Regions from separate parts of the Homo sapiens genome. Here region 2 is linked to region 1. Evidence: promoter capture Hi-C in 16 types of primary human blood cells and fetal thymus (Javierre and others, 2016). All regions are on one chromosome and are shown on one strand. Each heading gives the region's core, a stretch centred on a gene start or on the middle of the fragment in contact. The rest is flanking DNA. Distances are from core to core; before and after follow the strand shown. Region 1 overlaps TRIM4 (tripartite motif containing 4). Region 2 holds the start of MCM7 (minichromosome maintenance complex component 7).

Region 1 (4,672 bases), core at 667-3,166:
CTGGCCCTTGGGGAGCTCATAATAAAGAAAAACATACTGAGAGGGTGTGTGCCGCTGCTGTCCAATAGAAACCACATATGTAATTTAAAATCTTTCTGGTAAGATAAGGAAACGAGGTGACGTTAATTGTAATAATATATTTTATTTAATCTGATTACCCCAAATATTCAAAGCTGAGATGAAAATTATCAATGAGATTTTTTTTTTTTTTCTGAGATGGAGTCTCACTTTATTGCCCAGGCTGGAGCACAGTGGCGTGATCTTGGCTCACTGCAACCTCCTCCTCCGGGGTTCAAGCAGTTCTCCTGCCTCAGCCTCCCGAGTAGCTGGGATTACAGGCACACGCCACCACACCCGGTTAATTTTTGTTTTTTAGTATAGAGGGGTTTCACCATCTTGGCCAGGCTGGTCTCGAACTGCTGACCTCAAGTGATCTGCCCCGCTTGGCCTCCCATAGTGCTGGGATTAAGGTGTGAGTCACCACGCCCGGCCTCAATGAGATATTTTATACTCCTTTTTCATAATAGGTCTGAAATTGGTGTGTATTTTACATTTACAACACATAGCAGTTTGGAATATCCACGTTTCAGGTGCTTGTATGGCTAAATGGATACTGTATTGGACAGTGCCTGTCTGTATCTGTAAATGTCATAGACAGCTGATGATTTGGGAAAAGCCTAGCTTGTAATGATGAGGCTGGGTTTTGTTACTAGCTTCCTTCATCAGTTGGGAAAATCCTGTAACATTTGAATTTGGGGATTATCTGTCCTATCTCATGGGTTAAGAAGCTCCGGTTGAATAAATCACTTTACCTTACTCTGCTTCAGCCATACTGGCTTTCTTGCTTTTGTTTCAAGTCTGTTCTCTTTCTCTACCCACATCTATCCTTTAGATCCTTTTAGCTTTTAGCTTGAAGACCTTCCCTGATCATCCTTTCCAGAGTAGCCCCACCCCCTCCCATTACTGATGGTGTAACTCCAGTGGTCTCCAGCAGAATTGATATGCAGTAAGTACATGAACACATGAATTTATTTATTTATTTTATTATTATTGTTTTTGAGATGGAGTTTCGCTCTTGTTGCCCAGGCTGGAATGCAGTGGTGAGATCTCAACTCACTGCAACCTCCACCTCCCGGGTTCAAGTGATTCTCCTGCCTCAGCTTACCGAGTAGCTGGGATTACAGGCACCTGCCAGCATGCCCAGCTAATTTTGTATTTTTAGTGAAGACAGGGTTTCACTATGTTGGTCAGGCTGGTCTCGAACTCCTGACCTCAGGTGATCCACCCACCTTGGCCTCCCAAAGTGCTGGGATTACAGGCGTGAGCAAGCTTTCCTGGCCAAACACATGAATTTAATGACACAGTGAAAATGTTTGGAAACTGTAAAATACTGTACAGTTGTACCAGCTGACTATGAACAGGAAACAGACACAAAGCTGGACTAGAAAGTGTATGTTCATTCCTTCACTCAGTAACGTTTATTGATGCTTACTATTTGCCAAACATTGTTTTAGAATCTGGACATAAGTGGATGAGAAAGACATGGGCTTTGTCTTGTAAGGAACTTAAGCGTGTACAACATTAATTTCAGTGTGTGTGAGAGTAGCTGAAGTATTTACCAAGTGTACAGAAGGTCTGAGGTCGGAGTGATCACTGAGGAGTGAGGAAAGGCTCCGTTGAGGAGTTAAATGTGTTAGCTCTTCAAGGGTGAGTAGAGGTAGGAAAGAAGGTATTTCAGGCCAAAGGAACAGCATATTCCAAATGTGGTGGAGTGGGATAGCATGTGGTGTGTGAGAGGACTGGAGGTTGCTCAGTACTTCTGGAGCATGGAGCATGGGAAGGAGGATGGTGGGCCATGAGCTTGAAGAAAAAGGCAGGGCCTTATCATGAAGGATCTTGTTTGCCATAGTAAAAAGATTGAACTTTCTCTTTCAGGCAGTGGGGAGTTATAAAAGGGTTTTAAGGCAGGGAATGATATGATCGTTTTTTTTGTTTTAGACAGGTAACTTTGACATCCACGTGGATGAATGGAAGAGAAGACTAATTAGGCTGCTCTTGTACCATTTTAAGCAGGAGGTAATAAAGACCTGAATTAGTTCAGGGCAGGGATGATGGAGAGGGAGGGATGGAGTGATAATGAGCTGGAGTTGAATGACTTGGTGATCAATTAGACTTGGTGGGTGAGAGAGAGAGGAGTCTTGGATGGTAGTTCAGATTTCTGCTTCAGATGGCAGGTAGATGACTGTCAGGTTAACTGAGGTAAGGTACACAGGAGGAAGCGTAGTCTTAGGACAGAAGATCCCATGCTTGTGGAATGTACTGAGTGTGAAGTAATTGTGACAGGAAGTCCAAGGAAGAGGGACAGGAGGTGGGGTGCCTTGGAGGCTAGAGATAATATTTTAGAATCCTCAGCCTGTTCTTGAAGTCATGGAAGAAGTAAGAAGATGAGATTCTCCTAGGAGGACCACATAGAGAGTAAAAAAAGGCACAAAGAGAAGCTTGGGAAACACCAATGGTTGGTAGCCAGCAAAAGACATGGAGAGGACCCATCAGATAAATGGAAGGGAAAATACACTTGTGGGTGGGGGCCGAGGGAAATATAAGTGGATGGGTATGAAAGGGGAACATAGCCCTTAAATCTTCCATCTTCAGCAGTAATAGCTATCAGTTGTTCATTACTTCTTACGTACCACCCACAGTTCTAAGCATTTTTCATACTGTAATTCTTTAATCTTCATAGACATCCTATTAGGTGGATTCTGTTATTCCCTTTTTGAAGATGAGGCAACTGTGCCACAGAGATGTGAGGTTACATGCCCCCGAGGTCACAGAACTAGGAAGTGGCTATGCTTGAACTGAGGTCTTCTAACCCCTAATCCTTTACACTTTTCACTCTGCCACAACTAATCTGAGAAGACTTCTTAGAAGAGGTGGGATTTCAGGATTAAACACAATGGCCCAACAGGACAGGAGTGGATGGGTAAGGGTTACACTGGGATGGGCTGAATGTCACAAGGTTGACTTCGTAGGTGTTCAGGAGCCAGGTCACTGGGCGGAATTCCCTGATATCCGCCCATCTCTCCATCCTCCTCTGCTTAGTCACTGCCCTATTCAACCACCTTTCATTCCATCCCCACCCCAAGTTAGTTAGAAAAACATAAACTGCCCCTGGGTGAAGCTGCTTTATTTCCAAGCATCCCATTCTCAGCATATACTCAGATGGATGGACTGTGTTTTAAAAGTTGGATAGCTGGAAGTTCCCTAAATCCATGGAAAATATCCCCATCCTATACCCGTTATGGTGAGGGGAGAAAAAGAGAAAAGAGAAAGAGAAATAGCTTCATAAATCTCCGGATGCAAATTGTTTGCATGGAAAAGGCCTCCAAGTGCAGCTCTTTTTTCCTTCATGCCTGACTCTAGGAGCTAATCCCTCCATTCTGTTAATTAATTTAAGATGTTTATTGAGCACTGGCTTTGTGTCAGATGCTGTGGCACGGCACCAGATGCAGCACTGGGAATCCAGTGGTGAACAAGACAGGTAAAGGCTTTCCATGGAGCTCACAGTCCAGTTGGGCTGAGGGTGGGAGGTAGATAGCAGACAGACAAATAAATGAAATAATCACAGATGGTGATGGCATGCTGGGAAAGAAAAAGAAAGTGCTATCCTAGGCCAGGCGCAGTGGCTCACGCCTGTAATCCCAGCACTTTGGGAGGCTGAGACGCGAGGATCCCTTGAGGTCAGGAGTTTGAGACCAGCCTGGCCAACATGGTGAAACCCTGTCTTTACTAAAAATACAAAAATCAGCTAGGTGCGGCGGTGGGCACCTGTAATCCCAGCTAGTTGGGAGGCTGAGGCAGGAGAATTGCTTGAATCCGGGAGGCGGAGGTTGCAGTGAGCCGAGATCATGTCACTGCACTTCAGCCTGGGTGACAGAGCAAGACTCCGTCTCAAGAAAAAAAAAAGAAAAAAAGAAAAAAAGAAAAAGTGCTATGCCAGAGAAGGGAGCAGTCTTCTCTTAGGAGGTGACATTGCAGCTGAAACTTGCTGGATGCAGAGTCTGCCATCTGAGGAACTGTGGGAAGAGGCCCTGAGGCGGGGGAGAGCTGGATATGTTTATGGGGTAGGAAGAAGGTCTCTGCACCTGGAGGACCAAGAGCAAGGGGAAAGGTGGCATGCGATGTGAAACGAGATGTAGGCAGCGGTCAGCTTATGTTGGGCCACAATGAAGTGTTCAGATTTTCTTGGTGAAGAGGAAAGCCAGTGAAGAATCTTGAGCAGGAGAGTGACAATATCTGATTAGTTTTTAGAAAAGTTATTCCAAGGCCAGGTGTGGTGGCTTATGCCTATAATCCTGGCACTTTGGGAGGCTGAGGCAGGAGGATTGCTTGAGTCCGGGAGTTCAAGACCAGCCTAGGCAACTGTGAGATCCCATCTCTACAAAAAATACAAAAATTAGCTGGATGTAGTGATGCACATCTGTAGTCCCAGCTATTCGGGAGGCCGAGACTAGAGGATCACTTGCACTCAGGAGTTCGAGGCTGCAGTGAGCTATGATCGTGCCACTGTGGCTGCGTTGTGGATATTGTATGAGAGAAGGACATGACTGTAAGTAGGGAGGGCAGTCGGGAGGTTATTGTAGTTGTCAGACAAAAGATGATGGTGGCTTCAACT
Region 2 (4,672 bases), core at 1,530-4,029, 180 kb before region 1:
GGTTTGGGAGCTCAAACTTACATTAGATGCTATCAGTACAGACAATCTCTCGACCACATCCAAAAAAACTTCATTCTTTTGGCTCTGAGAAAGAGAGAGAATTTGGGTGGTTGGAAGCAGAATAGCCTATGTTCTGAAATGGACAGACAGGGAGAAAGAACAGGACAGTCAAAGCTACAGCTCTAGGGTGAGGACATGGGTGATGGAAGGGATCATCTCCCACCTCCACCCACATCTGGGGGGGTGGGAGATGTGCCAAGATCTTTTTCTTTTTTTTTTTTTTTTTTTGCATTTTTAGTAGAGACAGGTTTTCACCATGTTGGCCAGGCTGCTCTGAAACTCCTGGCATCAGGTGATCTGCCCACCTCGGCCTCCCAAAGTGCTGGGACTACAGGCGTGAGCCGCTGTGCCCGACCTAAGATCTTGGACTCCCGGATCCCAGAGCAAAACCAGAGCGTCTGACCCCATGGATCCTTCCCTCACCTGGTCAGAGCGACTGGACAGGACGGGGCGGCTGGCTGCACTGCTGGGGGCCACTTTGCTCTGTTGTGTCTCAGCCCCAAACTGTAAAGCATCCAAAGCAATCAATCATCAGGTCTGACAACCCCAGCCAACCCCTCTTCTCTTTCCTCACCCTCCTCTTTCCCTCTACTGACCAAGCCAACGCTGCTGAGGTCAAAGAGGCTGAAGGGCTTGCTGACCACAGCTTCCGTCTGGATGAAATTCCTCAGCATCTCCGTGGATGTGGTCTGTACATAGCCATAGTCCTAGTGGTAAAGGAAGGACAGTCTGAGTGATCAGTGGAGGGAAGGGGTAAAGAGGGGGAGTGGGGCCAGGCATGGTGACTCACTCCTGTACTCTCAGCGCTTTGGAAGGCCGAGACGTAGGAGAATGGCTTGAGGCCATGAGTTCAAGACCAGCCTGGGCAACACAGTGAGACTCTAGTCTCTACAAAAAATAAACAATTAGCTAGGCACAGGGGAGGCTGGGGCAGGAGGACGGCTTGAGCCCAGGAGTTCCAGGCTGCAGTGAGCTATAACTGCACCACTGCAGTCCAGCCTGGGCAACAGAGCAAGACCCTGTCTCTAAAAGCAAAAAAAAAAAAAAAAAAAAAGGTAGACTTGGCCTCCTAACCACGGCATCCCACAGTAGAAGAGCAGATGTATCTTCAGGGGAATTGGGTAGGGGCCACAGAAGGGGATTGTTGATTCTCACCAGCACTTCATCCAGGAGTTCGTATACCAGAGCCACATTGCGGGAGATGGTCCCCTCGCCCAGGGAGCCACAGTAATCGCCCAGAAGGGTGGCCAACCTGAGGAAACACTTGGAGCGTGTATTTTCTCCTCCTCTCAGACCCCTCCTAGCTACCAGGTGCCCAGCCCAACCCTCCTCACCTGGAGAGCAGTTCTAGGAGGCTGAAGGGAGAAACGTTTTCTGAAGTTGTGACCACCAAATAGAGGCCGCTGTGTCTGATGTGAATGAAATGACGGCCATGGTGATGCTGAGACACAGGCAGGGAGAAGAGAGGCGTTAAAAAAAGGGAGGTGGAGTGATCAGAACCCAGGAGACCTGAGCTCGGATCCCGATGCCTCTTACTAGTCACAACAGCAGTGCCTTTGGGAGATACATGACATATGCCTGGGCCCAGCTTCCCAATGTGGAAAGGGGGTTAATTACACTAACTACCCCGAGTTGCTGAGGATGGAGTCACGCAGGGAGCTGGGCCTGGTGTGTTGCTGGCGCCCATTGACTCTTTTTTTTTTTTTCCCCACCCCCACCTACCCCGAGAGGGAGTCTCGCTCTGTCTCCCAGGCTGGAGTGCGGTGTCCGGATCTCGGCTCACTGCAACCTCTGCCTCTTGGATTCAAGCGATTCTCAAGCCTCAGCTTCCCGAGTAGATGGGATTACAGGCGCCCGCCACCACGCCCAGCTATGTTTTTTTTTTTTTTGTATTTTTAGTAGAGGCGGAGTTTCACCATGTTGGCCAGGCTGATTTCGAACTCCTGACCTCAGGTGATCCGCCCGCCTCGGTCTCCCAAAGTGCTGGGATTACAGGCGTGAGCCACCGCGCCGGGCCTCACGTTAGCTTTATTTGGCGGAATGCACCCCCCAAGTGGAATCTACCAATGAACCAGTCCTGGGAGGGAGCTGGCGCCCACCCGGCCCGACGGGACCCCGCTCCTCACCCGCCTCCCGCCACTGGTTACCATGACAACCGGGGACTCGTCTCCTGGCAGTCCCGTCAGCTTCCGGTAGAAGAGCTCGGCCACATCCCGGCCGCCACTGTCCCCGCGGACTGGCGGGTGGAAGGACTCAGTGAAGGATCCTGCGACACAGGCTGGCCCTGGGCGCCCCTCCCGCCCGGCCCCTCCGCCCCTTCCCAGCCCCAAGGGTCTAGGATACAGTCTTTGTAGATGAGCGGGTCCCCCTTGGAGGACAGAATGAAGAATTGGGAAATCATGGCCGTTCTGGAGAGTAGACAAGAAGACGGCGAAAGTCGGGCCTGCCCCGCCCTGCGGCCCCGGAACAAAAGAACGCGTGTGCGCTGGCCCTTTAAGAGCGATTCTCCTCCGCCCGCGCCAGCTCGGACCGCGGGAAACCCGGCGCCTGCACTACCCCGCCCGGAGATTCCCTTCCGACGCCCGCACCGCCTCCCCGTCACTCATTCTAGGCCCGCACGGTGATTGGCTTGCGGCTAGCGGGAGGTGAAGAAGGCCGCCTTGTCCGATTGGCCCGCACGCAGTGGCGCCGGTCACGTGGGGGGCGACGTTTCGCGCCAATTTCGGTTGGCCGGCCACAGTCCACCGCGCGGAGATTCTCAGCTTCCCCAGGAGCAAGACCTCTGAGCCCGCCAAGCGCGGCCGCACGGCCCTCGGCAGCGATGGCACTGAAGGACTACGCGCTAGAGAAGGGTACGGGTCTACGAGCCCGGGAGGGCGTCCTGCGCGGGGAGCCTCCCGGGGAACACCTGTTGGTGTGAGCTGGGGTCTTGGGGGACCGGGGTCGGCGGGTTCTGGGGTGCGCGAGGCCAGAGGCAGGGTCGAGCTGCGGCCTGGCTAAGGCCCACGGGGCCTGGGAAGCGTGCGGGGGGCCATCGATGTTGAAGAAAAGCTAGTAATCCCACCTGGTAAAGGTGTTAGGGTCGTGGGGTTGGGGGCTTGGGGGCGCGCTAACCCGGCTGGGGGCTGCACAGGGAAAAGTCGCGCCCAGGACCTCAGGAGAGTCTTAAGGGCTCTGGGCTCCCGTGCCCGCTTTCCTTCGCGCTTTTGGGCATTCCCAGGTTCCCGCGCCCTCCCCAGGCGCGCGTAGGCCCCGGGGGCGGGCAGGCCGGGGCCGCTGCGCGCCGGGATTGGCCGTTTGAGGCCGCCCTCCGAGCGGAAGTGGAGCCGGGCGGAAGTGGCGCGAGGAGGCTGGAGGGAGTGTCGTGTAAACAGTGTCCTTCCGCGCGGCGGCCGCGGAGAGAGCTGCGGCCCGGGGGGGCGTGCCTGGGATCCGGAGCTTCGCTCGGGCCCGGGAAAGGCGGCAGTGGGCTGGGATCGCGGTGTCTCTGGGTGTGATGGCCAATGGCTGGACTGGCTCCCGCCCTGGGCGGAGGAATCCCGAGCTGTGAAGCGGCTGGAATCCGGGCCCATGTGCTTCTTTGTTTACTAAGAGCGGAAGCGATGGCGGGAGCGGGGGTGGGGTGCGGTGGCGGGGTGCGGTGGCGGAGGTCCCGGTGAAATCAGGGGCTAAGGGGACCCAAAGAAGGCGGGGGATCATAGGGGTGGAAAGAAAGCTGAGAACCTTGAGACCGGAGTGTGAGGGGCCAACGGGGAAGGGCGCTAGAATTTTAAACTAAAGTAGGGACCGGAATTCCCCTGGGGAGATGTTGGATGGCCCTGTGCACTGCCACGGGCTCTTTATTCTTCGCTGGTTAGAAACAGACTTGTGAAAAAGAGTTATGCCCACTTTGGGGAGACTTCGGTAGGTTTATTTAAATGCTCATATTATTAATTAGTTCATAGGTCGTGTTTTAAGCGAAAATGGGTATCTAAGATTTGTCTTAAAGTTTGTGTCTTACGGTTTTACATTTCATGTTACAGAAAAGGTTAAGAAGTTCTTACAAGAGTTCTACCAGGATGATGAACTCGGGAAGAAGCAGTTCAAGTATGGGAACCAGTTGGTAAGTCTAAGATTGGGTAAAGGGAATGGGGAGCGGGGTGCTTAAGGAGCCATAAGCAGCAGCTTGGCTTGTTTTATTAAAGACATAACAATTAGAGGGTTTGAGGGCTGAAAAGCGAGTATCGCTCTGTGTGGCGCTGCGTTCTCCCCTGTGGATGCCCAGAGCCTGTGCTGAGTTCTCAGTGATGCATTTTCACATATGAACACTGGTGAGCAAAGTGAATGTGGCTCTGAGGTGTTTCTGTCTCTTCCCCACTTGAGGTTCGGCTGGCTCATCGGGAACAGGTGGCTCTGTATGTGGACCTGGACGACGTAGCCGAGGATGACCCCGAGTTGGTGGACTCAATTTGTGAGAATGCCAGGCGCTACGCGAAGCTCTTTGCTGATGCCGTACAAGAGCTGCTGCCTCAGTACAAGGAGAGGGAAGTGAGTGGTTAGAGAACAATGGCAAACAAAGGGCGAGGCGTTTAAGCTTCTGTAGAGAGGCTGCTCAGATACTGATGTTTTCTGA

What was found. Contacts are between HindIII fragments. The CHiCAGO score rates a contact against its expected background, and 5 or more counts as called.
Region 2: the fragment with the promoter of MCM7 here is called in contact with a fragment that was not itself captured in region 1 in 7 of 17 cell types (naive CD8 T cells, naive CD4 T cells, total CD4 T cells and 4 more); the score reaches 9.8 in naive CD8 T cells.

The regions. Positions count from the first base shown.
Region 1 is chr7:99,914,106-99,918,777 of GRCh38, reverse strand. The region is part of intron 1 of TRIM4 (tripartite motif containing 4); the gene reads left to right. Among named protein-coding and RNA genes, the nearest start is that of TRIM4, 3.1 kb to the left of the region's middle. The HindIII fragment of the contact is 1,169 bases long and covers 1,332-2,500 here.
Region 2 is chr7:100,099,504-100,104,175 of GRCh38, reverse strand. MCM7 (minichromosome maintenance complex component 7) reads left to right here and starts at 2,779. Exons shown (of 15, transcript NM_005916.5): 1 at 2,779-2,912; 2 at 4,083-4,162; 3 at 4,423-4,587. The coding sequence starts at 2,882. AP4M1 (adaptor related protein complex 4 subunit mu 1) reads right to left here and starts at 2,533. Exons shown (of 15, transcript NM_004722.4): 1 at 2,404-2,533; 2 at 2,208-2,296; 3 at 1,395-1,501; 4 at 1,216-1,312; 5 at 657-767; 6 at 484-564; 7 at 22-84. The coding sequence starts at 2,461. RefSeq lists enhancers at 2,455-2,504, 2,527-3,079, 3,425-3,584 and a silencer at 3,215-3,314. The HindIII fragment of the contact is 6,263 bases long and covers 1-4,635 here.